Linked DNA regions of Homo sapiens: regions 2, 3 and 4 are each linked to region 1. The links are contacts of gene promoters, found by promoter capture Hi-C in blood cells and fetal thymus (Javierre and others, 2016). All regions are on one chromosome and are shown on one strand. The core of a region is centred on a gene start or on the middle of the fragment in contact, and the rest is flanking DNA. Distances in the headings are between cores, read along the strand shown. Region 1 holds the start of EMC2 (ER membrane protein complex subunit 2). Region 2 overlaps PKHD1L1 (PKHD1 like 1). Region 3 overlaps EBAG9 (estrogen receptor binding site associated antigen 9). Region 4 overlaps EBAG9 (estrogen receptor binding site associated antigen 9).

The links. The method cuts DNA at HindIII sites, captures the fragments that hold promoters and counts their contacts. A CHiCAGO score of 5 or more calls a contact.
Region 2: a fragment that was not itself captured here is called in contact with the fragment with the promoter of EMC2 in region 1 in 1 of 17 cell types (total CD4 T cells); the score reaches 5.6 in total CD4 T cells.
Region 3: a contact is called between a fragment that was not itself captured here and the fragment with the promoter of EMC2 in region 1, in 6 of 17 cell types (total CD4 T cells, non-activated CD4 T cells, naive CD8 T cells and 3 more). The highest score is 9.5, in total CD4 T cells.
Region 4: a contact is called between a fragment that was not itself captured here and the fragment with the promoter of EMC2 in region 1, in 5 of 17 cell types (non-activated CD4 T cells, total B cells, total CD8 T cells and 2 more). The highest score is 9.3, in non-activated CD4 T cells.

The regions. Positions count from the first base shown.
Region 1 is chr8:108,442,196-108,445,084 of GRCh38, reverse strand. EMC2 (ER membrane protein complex subunit 2) reads right to left here and starts at 1,461. Exons shown (of 11, transcript NM_014673.5): 1 at 1,387-1,461. The coding sequence starts at 1,426. LOC105375704 (a long non-coding RNA gene) reads left to right here and starts at 1,613. Exons shown (of 3, transcript XR_928530.4): 1 at 1,613-1,715. RefSeq lists a silencer at 1,508-1,627. The HindIII fragment of the contact is 5,303 bases long and covers 1,034-2,889 here.
Region 2 is chr8:109,517,880-109,520,862 of GRCh38, reverse strand. PKHD1L1 (PKHD1 like 1) reads right to left here. Exons shown (of 78, transcript NM_177531.6): 73 at 2,355-2,696. Among named protein-coding and RNA genes, the nearest start is that of EBAG9UORF, 20 kb to the left of the region's middle. The HindIII fragment of the contact is 663 bases long and covers 1,203-1,865 here.
Region 3 is chr8:109,549,307-109,552,286 of GRCh38, reverse strand. It overlaps EBAG9 (estrogen receptor binding site associated antigen 9), which reads right to left. Exons shown (of 7, transcript NM_004215.5): 2 at 1,380-1,477. The coding sequence starts at 1,462. Among named protein-coding and RNA genes, the nearest start is that of EBAG9, 11 kb to the right of the region's middle. The HindIII fragment of the contact is 4,370 bases long and covers 1-2,980 here.
Region 4 is chr8:109,565,693-109,568,489 of GRCh38, reverse strand. It overlaps EBAG9 (estrogen receptor binding site associated antigen 9), which reads right to left. Exons shown (of 7, transcript NM_004215.5): 7 at 2,494-2,797. Among named protein-coding and RNA genes, the nearest start is that of EBAG9, 27 kb to the right of the region's middle. The HindIII fragment of the contact is 730 bases long and covers 1,052-1,781 here.

The sequences.
Region 1 (2,889 bases), core at 212-2,711:
ACTCGTCCCTCAGGATTTTATATATGCTACTATCATCTAGGAAACCTATAATGAACATACCTTCATAATAGCATTTTCTAAAAATTATGTAATATTTAAAACATTTTTTAAAAAGCATTAAAAATAACATCCATTTATCTACGACTCAGCTTACGGAAGATACCCTGACACAAGCCTTTTAAAACTGTGTGTTTACAGGTTTGTTTTCTCCATTAGATTGTGACTTCCTTGGAAGTGGGGACTGTGTGTTGACAGAGCCAAGATTTTGCAGTAAGAAATCAACACTGTTGTTTAATATAATGGAATCCCTCAATTCAGGTATAAATACTGAGATTCACAACGTGCTAGAGGCCATAAAGTCAATAAATCATTTAATTCAGTTCAAGTACAAAGAAATTTTGCTTTATTTGTAACGGATTTACAACTTTATAATAACTGATATATTTATTCACGATAAAACAGAAAATACAACTTTCGGTCCACATGTTTTCAGGTCATTATTAAAACATCCCAAGAAGGCATTCGTTAAGCAAATTAGCTACTGAAGTCTCCTGTATTATGTTAAATGCTGGGAATATGAATTCCAATTACACAAATTCCACGCCTTAATGAAACTCAAGTTTCTTAAGCACACAGAATTGATCCAAGGTTTGGCTGTTCCCAGATTTAAAGAACATATCCCACTCTAGATCAACTAAGGATAGGGAAAAGTGACCATCACACGTAAGCACTTACGTAGCCCAGAGTTAATTAGTTATTTTTCCCTTCAGAAAAGAAACTACTAGTAGGGAGTAAGAAAGAAGTTGTGTTGTGTGTGTAAATGTGTTTTGAGAAGGAGTGGGACAGAGACTAGACTAAAAGGAAAAGAAACTGGAAACCCGGGTTTAAGAAGAAAACTAAATGTAGAGTGGCATATGAGAATCACATTTGTTCACGCATCTTTTACACAGCTTTTCTGCACAGAGCTGTAATCCTTACACACCACTTAGTAAAGGGCCTTACAGGCCCTGTGTTTCTTGGCTCCAAAGAAGCTTCAGTAACCACCTATTCCGCCTCTTCCGCACCGCCCAGCAACCAGTTAGCGTGCGACAACCCCAGCCCCAAGTCCCTCCCGCCCGCCTCATAAATAAAAGCGGCCCCGGGACGCTGGACTGGCGCGGAGGAGGGCAGGTCAACCGAGGAGCAGACACCGTGGGAAACGCTGCAGAGTACGCGTCCGGGCCAAGGGAAGGGTCAGCCTCAGCCTCCACCTCAGCTTGGCCCGTACAGTGAGGGCTCTGGTACCAAAAAGACACCAGAGAACCCAGCTCCCCGAAAGCAGCGGGTACTCCCGAACGGCTTCCCAGCGCTTTTAGTCTTTCCGCACCCGCCCCCACCCGAAGTTACCTTCCCAAGTGACATCGTAAAGCTCTGAGACCTTCGCCATCTTCCCAGAACCTAGAGGCAGCGGGGTGAGAGGGCGGGGAGACGCAGTCACGTGACCCGCCACCGGGCGGTGGAGAGTTACGTAGCTTTTTCTCATTGGCCAAGAGAGCAGAGGGGGCGGTATCCGCCACGCACGTGCACGCGGCTCTGCGGAGGGGCTTTCGGGGAAGGGGGCGGAGCGAGCTGGGCGGAGCGAGCTGGACGGTGGACGGAGCTAGGTGGGCGGTGCGTGGCGCTCCCGCAATCTCAGGATACCCTGGCTGCTGGCGGGGCTACGGTGCTGGCTCGGGGTGAGGTGTGTGTGTGTGTTGACGTGGATTTTTAACAAATGCTGGGTTTTTAGTGTCCGTCAATCCTGGCTTTTCAGTTTTTTCTACCTAGGCTTGTTCATTCTCTTCACACTCCCTTAAGTACCCTTATTCTCTTCATGGCCGGCCGCAGTGCAGCCTTCTGCACGAATCCCTTATTTGTCCCCAACTTTCCTCCTTCCGTAATGGGATTTGCTTTCCGTTCACTTTTTAATCGACTAAACGGATAAACTCCAAAGTTTTGAGAGACTAAGTGGGATTCTTCCTTTGCGCTCTGAAGTTCCCTTGAATGCCCTCGCGCTAGCTTATACCCTTCATTAACGCTCGTCGTGCCTGTCATTGCTTCATCCATGTCTGCATGCCACACTAGGTTTCAAACTGTCGCGAGTATGTAAGTACTTATAAGGAATGAATGTACGAATGAGACCTTCACAGTTCCTGAACTTCGCTCCTCATTACTCCTGGGTGGATGGGGGAGCCTCCTTTCCCACCAGACTAATTGCTTTTAGGAAACTTTGGACGTCATCTCCTAGACTTAAGGAGAAATGTCTGGACAGGAAGTAAAAAATTTGAGGATGATAAGCGTATATTTAGTATTTGAAGCAATGGGGACATGAGATTGTAGAGGAAATATGTAAGCTGAGAAAAAACTAAAAATCACTGCAATGCAGCCGAAAGTTATTGGTCAGTAAAGAAGGGGCAGTTGATTTGAGAAGTAGAAATAATACTATCCCACAAGTCAAAAGAGTGGAGGGTTTTTTTTCTCAGCTTTATTGAGGTGTAATGGACAAAAATTGTGTATATTTAAGGTATACAAAGTAATGATTAGATGTAAATATACACTGTGAAATGATTACCACAAGCAAGCTAATTAACACATCTATCACCGTACATATTTCCTGTGTGTGTGTGTGTGTGTGTGTGTTGAGAACACTTAAAAATCTCTCAGCAAACTTCAAAGTATACAATACAGAATTATAACTGTAGTCACCATGCTGTACATTCGATCTCCAGAACATATTCATCTTACAACCAAAAGTTTGTACTATTTGACCAACATCTCTCCATTCCTCACCTGTCGGCTCCAGTCAACCGCAGAGGTTTTTTTGTTTGTTTGTTTAAAAAAAGGAAAAAAACCATCAAACCATAGACCCCA
Region 2 (2,983 bases), core at 285-2,784, 1.1 Mb before region 1:
TGTGAGGGCATTCATTTCTGCTGATTGCCATCTAGAAACCAAAGACCTTAACTTGAAGGCCTCTTATTCCTGGCTGTAGGACTGTCTGCTCATAAATGCCTTTAATACATAGGTAACCCCTTTCTAGGACATCTGGGAATTTCTGGATATCCTGATACTATATAAAAGCTATAAGGAGCCAGGAGTACAACTACATGAACATCTTTCTTGCCACTTCTCAACATTTTGCTGTGATTCACCAAGTTGTAGGGTTCTCCTTGAGACTTGAAACACTATCGCAGTCTATGTCTAGAAAATGTGCCATTAGCCTGTCCCTCCCACCATCCCTAACTTCTACATTCTTCAGTGGTCTTATACCTGTCTGGATAAATCTAACAAGCTAAAACTGCTTTAAGGGGATGGATGTAGGAGGGATTGTATGTGGGGAAATATATGTCACATGTAAGAAATAAATCCCAGTTTCTTTGGATATCTAGTGGCTAGTGTGGTAAATTTTGGACCTCACGACACGTAAGGGCTCACCAGGGATTTCTAAGAGTAGGTGAGTAATCTGTATATGTGCCATGGGCCCTTTACAACTCCTAAAATAACAGGCAAAGTCATGCTGAGTCCAAACCCTGAGCCTGTAAGTCCAAGTGAGTACAGAACTGACGAAGGAAAGTTAACTATTACTCTGGGCAGAGAACATCGTGGGAGATCTGGTTGCAACACAAGCCTAGGCTTCCTACGCTCTTCTAACCAAGAGTTTATAAACACCTCCCTCCACACAGGCAAGCCTTCCCACAGGCTTATCCCCCCAATGGAAGAAACTTCCACCTGCTTAGCTGATAGAATTCCAGAGTGATAATGTGGTAGGTGCATAGGGTCAATGCCTAGAAGCAAACCTCTTGGGAAAATGAGTGAAGATCTCTAGTGGCATAAAGTGAGAACTTCACCCAGTACCCAGGTTTACACAGAGCCTGGGAGTTTAATGATAAAGTGACTGAACACAGGTAGATAGGGTAGATCCCAACCTAGTGGGGCTGCAGTTTATATATGTCTGGACGATCTCTTTAGGAAAAGGAATGCAGAAAAATCATACCTTTGTAGCTTTCATAATAACATTCAATGATTTGACCACATTATGAGGACCTCTCCTAAGGTATTGAAAGTGAAAGCCCCTCCCAGGACTTGTATCAGTGAGGGGGCTTGAAGTGTAAGCTTCATTAACTGGATGGTAAGTCTTCCTCTGACAGATACCTGCCTTTCCTGTTCTTGGGGAGGGGTACACCTAGATCAGAGTACTTGTGCTTGACCACTGAAGACAAAGGCATGGTTGCAGGTTAGCAGTGGGGGATATTATTGCATCCCAGAAGACCAGGAAAGTTCAGTAGTACCTCAAGAGATGCATATGTAGAGCAGAGAAGATGACCCACTCTGTACCAGAGGCTGTGAAGACAAGATGATAACATGAGGACGGAGGCCAGAACAGCCCCTTGGTATTCAGACCCCAACTTGAAAGGAGCAGATGGATAGAGAAAATTTGAAGAGCTGAGCATTTACTCAAGTGCCCAAACTGAGTGACCCTAAGGAAATGATTTCAGCCAGCAGAGATTTCTCTGATGGGACAGTTGAGCTTATTTTTTTATCTCTGATAAAAAATAGGAAGTGAGGGACACAGAGAGGGGATGATGGCTTGTGAGGATGATTCGCTCAGTCACAGGAAATAAAGACAGATTATGTACTTGCACATCTGCCCTTTTTGGGCTGAATCTGTGACTTTACTGTGGAAATCTAACCCACCAATCTACTGCTCAGAATATCCAAGAATATTTACTCTTTTTCTTAAGAAAACATCCACAGTCCTTCCTTTGACTTCCAAAGCTTTCCACATCTAGCACCTGTCTACCCCTTGGCTACACCTCCAGCAGCTTGTCCTTCCTGGCTCCTTCCACTCCAGACCAATCGGACCTGTTTCCTCTCTTCAAATGCACCAAACTCTCACCAACAGTTTCCATAGCTTGAACACTCTTTTTCCTCTGTCTTTTCATTGACTATCTTCATCCTTAATCTCTCATCTGTAAGGTCACTTGCTTAAGTAGGTCTTCCCAGATCTTTTTATATTAGATCAAATTCTTTTGTTGAACTTATTAATCATCACAATAACAAAACAGAGATTCAAATTCCTTCCAATTCTAAAACAGTTTGGTAGTACAGGAGCAAAGAAGGAAAAAGGGTCTCTGGGCACTTAGAGGGTTCAGGATGTGGGGTTGATGGGATTTCCTGAGGCCAGGCTCACCAAGCCCTGATCAGGTTATTTATGGATATGGATTTGGTAATTGCATTCCTCCATCTCAAACACCTGTTATTCATACCTGTGGTGCCATTGCTTATGAACTGAATAGGAGGGTCTCCAATCTCTATTTCAATTATGAATCCCATGGATCTCTTCCTCCTCAGACTCTTCCCTCTTATTTTGCTGATACGGATTTTGTCACTTGGTATCTTTAGGAACAAGGCAAGATTTTTAACCAGATTGTGAGAGGTATAAAAGTCATCTTCTGTTGCAACAGATAATTGGAAAGAAACAAATATCACTGTGGCAGTGTGAATTTCAACAGGTATAGTTCCTTTAACCAAAAGATAAAGCATCTGGTAGGTTCCATCAAAGTAGTTTTCACCAAGGACAGTGGAATCCAGGTTAGGAAGGAATTGGTCTATGAAGGAAAAAAGCCAGAACATCACAGCTAAGTATTTTATATTATCACAATCAACATGCGTTACTTAATGTTTGTTTGAATTTAGAAAGTCCCCCAAATTCAACTTTATCATTCTTTCATAAGAAAGCATACCTTTTTAAAAACAAAAACACTTATAGAACTGACCTGCGAAATTAAAGCCACTCCTTTAAAAAATACCACAAATAATCATTACACATTGTTTGTTTTTTAAAAATTAGCTATATAGACACAGTATAAATGAGAAACAAATCAAGTTATGATCC
Region 3 (2,980 bases), core at 466-2,965, 1.1 Mb before region 1:
TACCCTGGATTTTTTTTTTTTTTTTAAATCCCAGACCACTCTACTTTTAGCAATAAGTTCAATTTAGCAGCTATCAAATGGTCATATAGCCAGAGACTGCAGTTCCTATCCTTCCTTGCAGCTAGGGGGCCATATGACTAAGCTCTGGAAAGCAGGCAGTGCAAAAATTGTTGTGTGTAACCTCTAAGTCATGTCTATATATATTAAAAAAAGAGCTGATTGCTGTCCATTTCCTCTTTTACTATACCCTCCTCTTAGTATGTAAGTAACTTTTTCACAGTACCCTTAGGCCACAGAAACACCTAACAATTCCACTGAATAAGGTAGTTACACCCAAAAAACTTAAGTATATCCTAACTGCTTAGTAGCCATTGTAAAAAATACACATTTAAAGAAAAAGTAATATTTTTATTTTATTCTTAAATAACCACAATCACTGAACTTATTAATGAAATTTGTGTGCCTGTTGAACACTGCACAGCTTCTTATGCCTTAGAATAAGACTGGAGACCATCATTCTTGTTTTCAGTTCTACATTAATTTTGGTGCAGTACTCGCTTTTAATTACAACCTAAAATCCTGGCTTTGCAATGAGATGTCACCAAAAATATAAGTAAACAAAAACTTATCTCAAACATTAAAGAACACCATCATAAAAAAATACTGCAGGATTTAATGTTGCAAATGTGAACTACTTTGAGTTGAGGTATTCAACAGATGCTATCACTATGTTTCACTGCAAAATTTAAAATATTCTATGGCATCCCTGTGAATTTCATGTAAAGCCCTGAGGTGCCTCAGCACACATTTTAGACATCATAGCTCTTGGGTATGATCGTGTGACAAAACAGAAGGAACTGAAGTCTACAGATGATGTCCTAAAGCAAATGACTTACCTGCTCTTGACTTCCTGCATATTCTAGAATGTTACTCAAACAGAAAAAAAAATTTTTTTTTTTTAGGATTTTTCTTAGGATTTTTTTTTAAATATAAAAACAACACTATTGTAGTATAGACAGAAATACCTATTCCGAATTTCACCTAACCACTTTAAAACATTCCCATAATGAAACGAATACATCAAAGTTCTGTGATGATTATAATAATGAAAGTTGGTCTGTCTATTCCTAAATAGTATTAAGCATGTTATTTTAGTGGAAAGTGTAAGAATTTGAATGAACAAAACAACTGAACCTCTATTTTCTAGATCTGAAGTAGAGAAAAAGTATCTAAAAATGACTAGGAATTAATGAATAAATACTGCAATCAAGATATTCAGCTTAAATATAACCTGTCCTGTCCACGAAATTTGAAGTTTTGAAGGTATCCAAAACCAGCGAGGAGATAAACAGGTTAGTTTGAACATAAAACTTATTTACCTGCATATTAATCTCTTTAGGAATGAGAATACTGTTGCTAGGCAGGTACAAAATTTAAATAACCGAAACTGGGTGATGGCCATGGTGGGAATCAAAACCTGTGGAAGAGGCACAAAACAAAAAATGCATTAAATTGATTTCAAAAGTCATACTCCTGTCCTGAAAAGACCTATTATGCACTAAGAAAAATCTAAGATATTTTTTACCTTTCTCTAGAAACTATAACACAGTAAATTTTAAAATTATAATTTAAATCATATTAACAAGTCAAAAACCAGGTTTTCGAGTTTTCAATGGTTGTAAGGATAAAACCCTTCATTCTGAGTTTTTGAAAATAATTTTACCTAAATCTATTAATACAAAAATCTACAATTCAAAAAATAAAAAAGTATAAAATAGAATATATTAAATCTCTGTGTACCTTTTAAAGTTTGAACCACATGAACATAATACTATTTAAAATACTTTAAATATTTTTAACTTGCAGATGAATATATTTCCTTATATCCATTTTATAGATGAGGAAATTGAATTAAGAGAGGTCAAATAACTTGACCAAAGTCACATAGCTAGTAAATTGAAAGTTACCATGGAGCTCATTTAGTCCAGTGGTTCACAAATCTGGGAATCTATTAAAGAAATGCCAATACCTAGGAGTACCTCTAGTAAGTCCATTAAATCATATATTCTGAGGGGCAAGGACTGGTCATAACCAATAAGACAAGCAGGGAGATAAAAACTACTCAATTGAAAAGGCAGCAGGAAACAAAGAAAAGAGAACAAATAACACATGGGACAAGCCAAAAACAAATAAGATGACAGACGTAAATCTAACCATATCAATAATCTCATTAAATGCAAATTGTATAGCATTCCAATTGAAAAGCAGAGATTGTTAGATTGAATAAGAAAGAAAGACCGCCCCACTCCATGTTGCCAATGAGAAATGCATTTTAAATAAAAAGACACAAATAGGTTAAAAGTAAAAGGATAGGAGAAAATATACTATGCTAGCACTAATCAAAAGAAAGGTGAAGTGACTATTTCAATGTTAGACAGATTATAGGAAAAATAACATTACCAGGTATAAAAGTGGTCATTTCACAGTGATAAAGGGGTCAATTAATAAAAAGTACATAACAATCTAAAACACGTGTCCTTAATAACAGACTTTTGCCAATATCATAAACAAGACAGATAACATTGTTAGAGTCTGCAGATATTAAAAGGATACTGAAGAACTATTACAAACACCTTTGTGCCTGTATTTACTTGACAAGTGAGATGAAATGGACAACTTCCCTGAAAGACACAAATTACTAAAGCATAAGAAGAACAACCTGAAAATCTATATATCTATTAAAGAAATTATATTTGTAGTTATAAAAATCTCCCAGACACAGATGGCTTCACTGGTAAATTCTACAAAACACTTAGGAAGGAATAATACCAATTCTATACAAACTGCCAAAAAACTGAAGAAGGAATATTTCCCCAACTCATTATTTGAGGCCAGTATTACACTGATACTAATCCAAAGATATTACTAGAAAAGAAAACTATTAATATTCTATGAATCTAGACACAAATCTCCTTAGCCA
Region 4 (2,797 bases), core at 167-2,666, 1.1 Mb before region 1:
ATTAAATTATTAGAAAACACAAATGGGTATTATCTACTATAATTTGTAATGCTATCTTCATTAAGAACTAGGAGAAACTTTAAAAGGCATTTTGGCGGCTCATAGTTCCGTCAAGAGAGGCCTTAGAAATCATAGTCTACATAGACTGTTGATTAACCACTATTATAACCTCCTCTCTAAGGTTGCTATTTTCCATTCCATTAATCAAGTACACAATTTATTTTCTAGGCCTTGGTTTCCTTATATGTGAAATAAGGGTAGTATCTCTTACAGGATTGCTAAGAGTCACTGATATAATTAGTCAAAGACTCAGACTTACAATAAATGTTTTCTTTCTTGCTAAATTTCAAGTTCAATTTAAAGGTGTATAAAATACTGCAAGATTAGGCAACTTCTCCCACTCTTTGCAGGGAAGGGGCTGCCAATACCACTGCATGGTGAGATGTGGGAAGTATATAGGGCCTCATACCAACTTCCAATTATTGAGTGCTTATACTGAACACTTATGTACAGTCTCAATCCTTACAACCACCATTTCCATTTAAAAGATTTGCAAACTCTGGCAATTTGTTTAATGCTGTACTACCTCTACAGAAGCTCTGAGAACTCTGGGAACCTCTCAGAGCCGGGGTGATCTGATCAATGTATATAAGGAAAGCATCTACAGAAAGATCCCCTGAAAAGAAGTCCCCTGAAAGGGAAGGCTGGGATTATCTTGGACTGGCCGCAGACTTTCAGTGAGCTTCTCTGCAAAAGTTTCCACTGGTGAACTAGCAGTGTCAGCAGGAGGTATGAAAGGATAGAAACAAATCTGTTGTTGAAGGTAAAAGATGGTCAAGGAGGTCCCTAGAATAGAGTGTTTCTTTCAAGCTATAGAAGATCGAAGGTGTCTGGTGAAAAAGCATTTTACTAGCTCTCAAAACCTACTCTGGTTATTGAGTATGCCCAATGGTCATGACCAAGAGGGATGGAAGATAAAAAGCAGAAGGCAATGTAAAAAAAACAAAAAACAGTTGAGTATAAAAAGAGTACCTAGCTGTTGCTGTAAGCTTGGGATAGTTTTGGTTAAAGAAAAGTGAAAGGAATTACACAAAGAAAAAAATAAATCTCTTCGTATTGTATTAGGACAGAGCAGTTCAAATTTAAAAAAAAAACTATGCAAATGACAAAAACAAGTTTAAGTTATTAGCTACTAAATATGCTCTTCATGAACCCACTATCTTCTTCAGCCCTCCAGTTCACCTGAGAGGGTATTAGCTCCTTCCCTGGAACAATCTGTAGGCTCTAGCCCACTCCCAACCTCCCAGCAGGGATCCATTCGGAACCCTGTCATGTTTGCTTACATGCCTGAAGATTTCCTTTGAGCAAGGGGTTTAAGGAGTATGAAAACCATCGTTGGTTATTCCAAATCTGAACTTCATAGGATCAAACAAGATGAGTATGTTAGCTCTGTCTGGCTCAAACCATCCTTTAGTAAACATACCATTCTCAACAAAATTCAGGCTTTTTGGAACACTGACTATGGTTAGGTTTACGCCATGGTGGTAGCTTGTAGAGTGGTGTTGGAAGCTCGATCCAGATGCTGGTTTCTGTAGGTACCTTCTGCCCAATCACCAATCTTCATGTAGAAACAACCTAGAAATAATCACCCAGAGGCAAGTGCATGTCAAAACTGAGAAATTCGGATGCAGAATTTCAAATTTTCAGTTCTAAAATGTCAACTCAATTAAACATGCTATACTAAAAGAAGAGCCAAGTAGAGAATATCCCTAGGTAAAGCTTAAGAAGAGGAAATGGCTAGAAACCATGAAATTACTACATAAAAAACAAAACAAAACAAAAAAAAACACAAGGTAAGTTTCCCATGTCTTTGATTACTTGTTATCTCAGTACATGAAATGCACGATTTTGCTAATGGTTAAAACTTCACTAATTCTATCTATGCCTACCAGTATTTCTTATTATTTCTAATAAGCATCTAAAACTGACAATTCTTTATTGAAATCAAGAAAACAAAAAATAGAAACCATAAATTTAGTAGCTAAAAGAGACAGTATGCTACCATGAATTGTTTGTCATATGCATTTAACTCAGTGACTACTTTTGGGACCAAAATATACCCAAGTTAATACAGGAATTTAGTTTACACATCAATAGAGATAAAATAAATTCCAGAATTGTTATCTATTCTTTCCACAAGAAAAATCTATTTCTTCCTAATCATACTAACTATAATTGCTAATGTCTTTATTTTTAAATAATCAAAAACCAAAAAGCCAAACAACAACAACAAAAACCTCAAACACATGAAAATCATGACCAAACCAAACTTAAATACTTTTCAGCTACTAGGGAAAAGCAATACAAGTAATTGAGCTAAAGGAAGTTATCCTTTATGAATTCCAAATTTAGAGAAGATATGTTGTATTCCCATAATAACTAACTATAAATACAAAGAAGGAAGAGAATACATTATTAAAACTTTGAGCCCAATTCTATTTAAGTTGGGAGTTTATTAGCAGAAATTCTAATGAATATAATAACTGGAAATATAATTTGGGGCTATAAAAAGCTCTGTACCAAAGTTAACTTTCATCTTATTCTATAATCACATTTAGTCTGAAAGCTTAGGCTAAGGGCTTAAAGGGTTCTCATTGTATAACTTATGATTTTTCTATAAAATATCACTTTAAGTAAAATAAATTAGTAAGGTTTGGCCTGTACAGTATCTATGACATTTCAAAATCTCACCGAATGTTGATTCTAGGCAGTAACTTAAGAAAGTAAAAATCCTTAA